2 separate regions of the Homo sapiens genome follow, and region 1 is linked to region 2. Evidence: promoter capture Hi-C in 16 types of primary human blood cells and fetal thymus (Javierre and others, 2016). All regions are on one chromosome and are shown on one strand. The core of a region is centred on a gene start or on the middle of the fragment in contact, and the rest is flanking DNA. Distances in the headings are between cores, read along the strand shown.

Region 1 (4,941 bases), core at 1,953-4,452, 850 kb after region 2:
TTATTATTTAGTTTTTATTTCATAATCATAAACTTAACTCTGCAATCCAGCTAGGCATGGAAGGGAATAAGGAAAGCATGGAACTGCAGCGGGAGTACAAAGATTCTAGGATACTACGAGCAAATGGGGTGGAGGGGTGCTCTCCTGAGCTACAGAAGGAATGGTCTGGTGGTTAAGACAAAACACAAGTCAAACTGATTAGAGTTGTCCACAGTCAGCGATGGTGATCTTGCTGGTCTTGCCATTCCTGGACCCAAAGTGCTCCATGGCCTCCACAATATTCATGCCTTCTTTCACCTTGCCATAGACTACATGGTTGCCATCCAACCACTCAGTCTTGGCAGTGCAGATGAAAAACTGGGAACCATCTGTGTTGGGTCCAGCGTTTGCTATGGACAAGATGCCAGGACCTTTATGCTTCAGGATGAAGTTCTCGTCATCAAATTTCTCCCCATAGATGGACCAGTGCCATTATGGCGTGTGAAGTCACCACCCTGACACATAAACCCTGGAATAATTGTGTGAAAGCAGGAACCCTTATACCCAAATCCTTTCTCTCCAGTGCTCAGAGCACAGAAGTTTTCTGCTGTCTTTGGAATCTTGTCTGCAAACAGCTTGATGGAGATGCGGCCCAAGGGCTCACTGTCGATGGCAATTTCTAAGAACACGGTGGAGTTGACCACGCTGGTAGTACAGGGCTTCCGGTGGCGTTGGCATCTGCTAGCTATGTTTTTTTAAAAGGCAGGTTGGTTATGCTTACCCAGGAAACCTCTATCTCCGAATGTCTGGCCACTCTCACTGTGTTGTGGAGCCCCACCTCCCTGCTTTGGATGAGACTAGACTGCCAGGCGCCATTCTCAGGGCCATACCCAGCAGTCCCAATAAAACGGGGCTTAATGCTGCTCTGAGAGCTTGGGGGCACTGGGCCCATGCTGCACTCAGACTTATCAGGACCTGCTAACAGAAGTCCTGTGCATTGTCCAACCAGCTGAGGACTCAGGGCTGCTAGGACAATGTCCTCTATTATTCCACCCTAAGTACCTGCATATTGCCTGGAGTGGTGAGAAATTCTTTACTCATCCATTTTCCCTACTGGGTCTAGGATGGACAAATGGCAGTATGAAAACTGTGAATCTTTGTTACTGTGTAGGGATCTAGAGGCTAAACCCTTGTCCTCAACCCCAGAACCAGAAAAATGGTTATTAATCAGGACAGCACAGTGAAAGCAGATGCAGATTATCCTCACAGTGCATGGCCATTAATGCAGTTGTCCATAGGTTTTGTATATTTTACATCAAACATCAAGCTTGAATGAAGGAACAGGATTTTGACTTTGTGTTTTTAACTTGAAGCATGAGATTCTAGGTAAAAGGGCTGTGACCAAGTACAGCTGCATTTATACAGTCATGGTGGAGGAATTTTATGAAGGATTCTTTAACAACTGAACTTTGCTTATGGTGTTCTGATCCAACTCTATCCCTAAGCCAACTTAAAACCAGATCACTCAGCAATACCCTTTATACAACACTTTTTTATTTTAATTGAGACTGAGTCTTGCTCTGTCACCCAGGAAGAGTGCAGTGGCGTGATCTTGGCTCACTGTAACCTCCGCCTCCTGGGTTCAAGCACTTCTCCCACCTCAGCCTCCCAAGTAGCTGGGATTACAGGCATGTGCCACCACGCGCAGTTAATTTTTTTTATTTTTAGTAGGGATGGGGTTTCGCCATGTTGGCCAGGCTGGTCTCAAACTCCTCACCTCAAGTGATCTGCCTGCCTCGGCCTCCCAAAGTGCTGGGATTATAGGCATGAGCCACTGCCCCTGGCCCCTTAATACAACATTTAATAAATGTTGGGCCAGGCGCAGTGGCTTACGCTTGTAATCCTAGCACTTTGGGAGGCCAGGAGTTCAAGACCAGCCTGGGCAACATAGTGAGACACTGTCTCTACAGAAAATTTTTTTTTTAAATTAGCTGGGTGTGGTAGCACAGCTTATAGTCCCAGCTGCTTGGGAGGCTGAGGCAGGAGGATCACTTGAGCCAAGGAGGTTGAAGCTGCAGTGAGTGGTGACTGTGTTACTGCACTCCAGCCTGGGGAAAATGAGAGACCCTGTCTCAAAAATAAATAAATAAATAAAAGCAAATGTTGGTGGGTGATTAAAATGATAAAATAATGATAAAACAAGTAATTAGGAAAAAAAAGTCCATCTTAACCTCTGGCCTGTTTTTTGAAGGCATTGTTGTTGATTAGGGTTAGGTTCAGCTGCGGGTAACTGAAAACCCAAAATAAAGATTACGCATTATCCAGTGTGCCTGTTCCAGTTGAACCATCACATCCACATTCCAGACATCAGAAAAGTAGGAAAAGTAAGAAAAAGAACATCTTGCACTTTGAAGAGCACTTTTGCTTGTATCCATTGGTGATGATTTGGTCCTGTGTCTCGGTCTCACCTATCACAGTGAGACCGAGAAGCATAAACCTGATTGTGTGCAGTGTTATACCCGGCTACCATTTGGGAGTTCTGGTCCTGAGGAAGTAGGGAAATGGATGTTGGGAGGTGTAACTGGATTCTGCCGCCCTGACAGAGCCGTCAAGCACGGCCTCCCTGGCTGCGTCCTCCCATGAGGTGAAAACTAGGGCGCTACCAATGCGTGCTTCCTTAGGCCAGATCTGGGTCTTGGCACCCAATACTCCCTTTTGGCAATTGTATCTTCTCCATCAGCTCTTGTAAACCAGACACCATGGAATCCCTTGGTTTTTTAAGTTACTTTTATTATCCTTTATGTGCACCAATGCAAGCCCAGCCCAGTACAAAAACAGGAAAGGAAAACTCCCCCTACACACTCAAATTGATCTTCATACTACATTTCTTTTCTTGGGAATTTGTTTGTACTTAATAATAACTTCTTTCGAATCCCAAATACCTTTTCCACTCAGGGGCAGTACAAAGTCACGCGCAGTAGAACATGAACGGCGCAGCTTACCTCATGCGTGTCCATAAACTCACCAAAGGAACTTGAAGGGAGAACAGTGTCTTTATGATCCGGCGTGTCTTGGTACCTGCTTAAAGTCACTTTTGCTTGTGATTTAGCTGGATACACTTTGCATATATACATGAAAAATAATTTTTTTTCTGGGAATGTCTAAGGACTATCCAACACACAAAATGATTTCATCCTTTTCTGAATGAGAACAGCCCGAAAGTTTCTGGCAAATACGCAGGGTTCGTGAGATATGAAATTCAATTATGTCGTGGTACATAAGGTCCGCCTCTTCACGACTTTCAGTGGATTTTCTTCCCCTGGGAAGGAGGCCCCTCAGCCGCACGTTCCGAATCCCAGGCCGTCCTTGTACCTGAAGACCCAGTGGTGCGCTGCCCCCTTGTGGGAGATGTGGGCATTGCAGACCTTTCAACACAAGGAAACGGAATTTGTCTTTCAAATGCAGCTGGAAAAATCTATCCTGTTTAATTCCCAGGAGGCACGCAAGCCAAACTGGACCTTGAGAAAGACATTATCTTACAGAAATGTCTTCCAAAAATGTGATTGTGTTTATGAAGAAAACCCACTTTGTATATAACAACACTGCATAGCATGCCTATGCTTCTTTTTACAGAATGGGTTTTTTAACCAAAAGTTGGATCATTAGCTTTATTATAGATTCAGTCTTACTGGTAGCATCACAAGGCTAACTTCCAAGAGAAAATATTTGGCTTTTTATAAAGTGAGGAATTATTTTGTAAAGTAAATAGTACATGCCTCTATCTCCTACCAACCGTTTATTCTGTAAATTCTGATTTTAACGAAGCATTTCTCAGAGTAAGGACTTCTTTATACCATCACTTAACTTCCTGCAGGAATTCTAGAATTTCTCTCCATCTTCTTTGCACCAGATCCAATGTTTTGTTTTGTTTTGTTTTGTTTGAGACAGAGTTTTGCTCTTGTTGCCCAGGCTGGAGTGCAATGGCACGATCTCAGCTCACTGCAACCTCCGCCTCCTGGGTTCAAGCGATTCTCCTGACTCAGCCTCCCAAGTAGCTGAGATTACAGGCGCCCACCACCACGCCCGGCTAATTTTTGTATTTTTAGTAGAGACGGGGTTTCTCCATGTTGATCAGGCTGGTCTCGAACTCCTGACCTCGAGTGATCCGCCTGCCTCGGCCTCCCAAAGTGCTGGGATTACAGGCATGAACCACCGTGCGCAGCCATATAGCCACTGTTTTTAAAAGCCATTTCTGCACTACCAAGTTAGTGAGTAGCAGCCCTCCACCTGCCCACCTTTGGCGTATGGACCATGCAGCTAAAAGAAGCAACACAAAATAAACTGTGGTCAAAAGAGACTCACAGTTCTCCCTCACACCGGAGGCTGAAGACACTCACACTTCCTCCTTTTAAGTCTTCAACTTTTCTTCTTTATGACACCCAAGGCTTTCATGGCCAGTCAGAACGTCAGTGCCAGAAGAGGCCTTTGAGACCTCTGCACTCAATTTCTGCATTTGAAGACAGACCCAGGCCCTCATCTCCTGACCCCTCATCCAGTGATATTCTCCTGCACCTCCCTGAGGAGTTGCTCAACACTCTGATCCCTCCGAGAAGCCTGGGGTACCTCTAAATTTAACATGCCAGAAACCGAGAACTCTATGCAAACAACACCACTGCTCAGAGGTGATAAGGGTAAGCAAATAAACCACCAGGGAGAAACAGAAGCAGAGTTTTGGCTCTCACCACCCTGTAGATAAACAAGTGTTTGATCTGGGCTGAGCACATCCCTCATCTGGTGAGAGATAACATTCACACTCAGAGGGAGTCTGTGCTTGCAGCCAACAGGTTTGGAACCCTATTGAGCGCTGACCTGGCCGCACACAGACTGAACTAGGGCTCAGGAATGATGGACCAGGGGAAATTTTGTTACCACCCAGGGGGAAAGAGAGGGTCTTCCTGCATT
Region 2 (4,613 bases), core at 2,035-4,534:
CAAAATGGTCACCTTTACTTATAACTGTATGCTATGTGTAATTAGAATTTATTTTTAATTTCTTTATGGTTAACATGCACATTTTTTGTTAAAAAGAAATCGTATTTTTAAACAATAAAGTGAAAATTGCACGTTGACTACCTACATTTCCATAATCCCAGATGGAATTCCAGGAGTCCCATCCGTTGTTATTGTCAACATTGGCCACATTGTGTTCATTGTTGACACTCACTGACTGCTGCCCACTTCCAGCATTGTTGTTGTCATCATTGACGTTGATATTCTGAAGTTTATAAGAGATTGAGAGTGATTTAATATCACATTTCCTTGCAAATGCATTTTGGTAGCAAACTTGAAAAGGTGAGACTTACATAGTTAGCTAGGGCAGGAGCTAGAAAGACTCCAAGAAGTCCAGCAAAGACAATCTGAAATCACAAATAACATTGGTCTCCTGTTACATGGCAAAATGATGTCTTCTTTCTTCCTCTATCCAAGCTTATGAAAAGTATTCACTAATTTTACCAATGTGTTCAGTTCTAGTTCAATGTGTTTTTTTCTTCTCTTACCTTGCATTTTTTAACCATAAAGGTTTTAACGATAATGTGAAATTGCTGATTAATTATAAGTAATTATATTAATGTGATATATAGTTTTAGAATTTTTAGTGTAGGCCTTATGAAACGCTGGAAAAATTGATGAAGAAGGGAAGTTGAGAGCCAGGAAAGCTGCTTTCATCTCATTGCCATCCAGTACTGAGGAAGAAAATGTAATTTTCAAGTAGTGATAAATCAAATTATTGAATCAAATCCCTTTTAAAGTAAAACCCAGAATGTACCATCTTGTTTCTCTTCAGTTTAATAAGTGGTATCATAAAGATGACTTTGCTAAGATAATACTTCTGGAAATGTCAGAATAGAGTTTAAAAATTTTTAAGATTGGTCAAAATATTAACTTTATAATAAAACATATACTTGGCAAATGAATTTCCTATAAATTATCATTGGTCAGAATGCTGTTTTGTTGAATTATATTATGTAATATAAACCATAGGTGTTATTAGAAAGTAGAGAACTGCCTTTCTTATTTAGAGCTTTCAAGGACTTGCTATAAATGATTATTTTTAAAATGCTTTATAAATCTTCATGATTTTTCTATTTTGGATAAACTCAGCTATAGTTAATGACAGCATCCTACCTTGAGTAGATATTTGGATTATTTAAATCTAGTAAAAGAAGAAAGTTATACTTCTTCGAGTATTAAGAGATAGGAGTAAAGATTCACTTTTAAGTTATTGAAAATATGTGTATCCTCCTAAATATTAACAAAAATGATTTGGGATAACTGACATGGCTTGGTTATTCAGCTTAAATTTGTACTGTGGCTTATGTTACACAGGTTGTTGATGCTCACCTCTCACTCACTTGTTTCTAATTGTTTTATAAGGTTTAAAATTCTCTCTTTAGAGAAATTCAGAAAATTCACCTGGCACATATTTTGACCTCCTAGGTAACATATTTGTACCAGTATTGAATTTTGGTCAGTGCCCCAATATAAGAAAGTTACTGTTTTAAAATAAAGCAAACTATCTTATTTTCCTTGGAAAAAAAAAGAAGTTTTACAATAAATAGCATAGTATAAATGAATACTATGGTTTGAGATGGCTATAAGTGCTAAAAATCACATCTGAAAATGATTTCAGTTAATTTTCCTATTTAACATGGGATGTTTTCTTCCTAATAGAAATAATCTTTTTATTAAAAAAAACTTTCCAAAGCAATGGATTAGTAGGCAGTTTGGATGCCAATGATGAGAAAGCAAGTATAGAGTGTCTCGCTGGCAAGAGTGATCAGCAGAGGCGATGTCACTAGCAGTGTCCCAGGATACTTGGTTTAATTATTTATCACAGGGTCCCTGACATTGGTTTTCAGAGCACAGAGCTTTATGCAGGGTGCCTCATTCTGGGTACCTAGTCTCATTTCCTTTGCCTGGGACAAAATAGTTTTGAGAACTGCTCTAGAGATTCAAGGTAACTTTTGAAAAAAAATTAAATTTTTCTCCCAATAGCTTAAAAAGGAGTTAAAAATTAGTCTCCTAAAAAGTCAGAGGTAGAAGAAATTTTAGAGAACACCTAGTACAATGCAATCATTTTACAGATAAGGTAACTGAGCTTCAGGGGTTAAGTGAGTTGGCCAAACTTATACCTCTTGTTCACAGCAGAACTAGGAGAGAAATCAAATCTAACCTGTGTCTGGAGCTCCCTCTGACCCTTTTAAACTTTGCTGCTATTAAGAGGACCTAGTTCTAGGTAGTCATTTTACATTTGCAGCCCCATTATAAAGTAGAGTCTGCCGTAACGTTTTCCAGTGTGTAGTATGTTGAAACATGAAAATAGTCATCTGATTCTAGCCCCTTTGCATCGTGTTGTGAGAAACCCGGCACTACTAGTTACTTTGGCAGGGTTTCTCGGTCCACCTCCTCCTAGACTCTCAGGCTTCTGTCTGGAACCACAGGAGAGATGCTGTGGTAGCTTCATGTTTCAGATGCTTTCTTAAATAAATGGCCATGCTAGAGCCCAAGGCAAATCTTTCTTTCTTGGAGACCCATTTTACTGTAACAAATGTGACAAGAAGTCTATCTCAGCCACTTATTTTGATAATAAGCTTTTCATCTTTCCTGAACATGCTCAGGAATTTTGGTAAATAAAAGGAGGAATTCAAGAATGAGGGATGATCGGCACTTTCTAGGGCTTAGGAACTGCTTACCCTGCATGGAGACCGGAATCAGGTGATGCGGAAAGTCATTTTGTTAAAAATAGGTCAGTGTGAGGTGCTCAGACAGCTGTCTAATCTCAGCACAATTATCCTTCTCTATAGAGATGCTTATAAATGCCATGATTATATAAATAGAAAAAAGATTTTTTTTCATTATTTCTTCTTCTAAAAAAAAGGGATACATGTGCAGAACGTGCAGGTTTGTTACATAGGTATATGTGTGCCATGGTGGTTTGCTGCCCCTATTGACCTGTCCTCTAAGTTCCCTCCCCTCACTCTCCACCCCCCAACAGGACCTAGTGTGTGTTGTTCCCCTCTCTGTGTCCATGTGTTTGAAGAGAGAATTTTTTTAAAACAAATTTTCCATGATGGGGCCATAAGAAGCAGACCTCCTAAATCTCAGAATATTGACAGTCTCCAATCATTTGGTGGTAAATTCAAAAGGAAAAATCTACTCACTGTGAACTTCATCTTGTCTTCACGAAAGCAGTGGACAGAGGAGTAGGCAAGCATGGACCTGAATGAGAAGCCTTCTCATATTTGTACTTAACCAGGTTGACTCAAACTAGGTGTTATCAGGTGGGGTCAAAGACTTACCTTCCTCAATTTCTCCTATCTGTGCCATGAGCCAGTGTACCAGGAAACCTTTCAGAATATCTGCATGCTTAGCAAGGAACTTTCACATGGAGTTGACCTGACTCATCACTTGTTGAAGCTGAAGGTATCACAACAAACTCAATATGATTTATGATAACTTCTCACCCAGTCAAAGCTGTGGGCGTGAGTATTTTACACGCTAACATTGCTCAGATTCAGAAAAAGAATAATCCCTAAAATCAAACAAAATCACAGCTGAAAAGCCACGTGTATACTAGGCCTTCCAGATAGCAGCTCCTATAGGAATGTAGGAATGGTTTCCACTTCTTAACTTTTATCTGAGCCCATGGCAATGGTTTTGCTTAGACTAAACATGTTTTGTGAGCAACTCCCACCAAACCTACCCCTTTTCTGCAATGTTGAGCTCACTTAATGATAGCACCATATATCTGGTACAGCCCTTTCTTCTCAGTCTGACATCTACTTAGTTACTGTCATTTTATCTCTGAAATGCCTCTCAACTCTGACCTTGCCCACAGCTCCCCTCACCTGGACTTTCACAACAGTCATGCAATTGATCACTCTGGTCACCAGTTTCTTATATTCCAATGCATTTTCTTCATTAACCCTGAGGTTGTCTTTCTGAAGTGCATAGATAGACATGACTCTATCACGCTTGGAAATTTCGCTGGCAGCCTACAGAAAATTCAAAGTCATTGGAATGGCATCCAGGGTCCTATGTAATAAGATTTCCAAAGGCTTCCCGTCTGCCACTTTATGCTATGTACCTACATTCTAGCTCCACCAGCGTTCCCACCATTCCTGGAAAAGTCAAGATGTGTATGTCTCCATGCCTTTGTACATGCTGTTGTTTTATCTTGGAGGGCCACCCGCTAGCCTCTCGCTTGGTAGACTCCTGTTCATTGTTCAAGGCTCAGCTCAAATATCACTGCCTCCATCACATCTCCCCCATCTGATAGATAGAACTTTCCTAGTGTTTGTTTTTTCCTTCTGGGAACTATAAAAGCAATATCTTTTTATTTGCTTCTAGATAATTTAGTTTTCAGAAGTTACATTAAAATAATAAAAAATATTTTCATCAAAAGCAGAGAGTAGAAACTATCAATTGGGCAGACAAGTAAAAGCTCAAAACAGGTTTGGAGGTGAGTTGGTTTTAATTTTTTTCCTGCTTTTTCCTATACAGTGAAGCTAGTAAATTAAATTTGCCAAGGAGGAAAACTGTAT

Evidence for each region. The method cuts DNA at HindIII sites, captures the fragments that hold promoters and counts their contacts. A CHiCAGO score of 5 or more calls a contact.
Region 1: a contact is called between a fragment that was not itself captured here and the fragment with the promoter of GKN1 in region 2, in 1 of 17 cell types (total CD8 T cells). The highest score is 5.2, in total CD8 T cells.

What each region holds. Positions count from the first base shown.
Region 1 is chr2:68,121,005-68,125,945 of GRCh38, reverse strand. It overlaps the pseudogene PPIAP64. Among named protein-coding and RNA genes, the nearest start is that of DNAAF10, 34 kb to the left of the region's middle. RefSeq lists enhancers at 3,215-3,509, 4,358-4,437, 4,448-4,617, 4,848-4,941. The HindIII fragment of the contact is 3,787 bases long and covers 1,309-4,941 here.
Region 2 is chr2:68,973,307-68,977,919 of GRCh38, reverse strand. It overlaps GKN1 (gastrokine 1), which reads right to left and starts at 3,284. Exons shown (of 6, transcript NM_019617.4): 1 at 3,231-3,284; 2 at 372-425; 3 at 146-283. The coding sequence starts at 3,242. The HindIII fragment of the contact is 2,059 bases long and covers 2,663-4,613 here.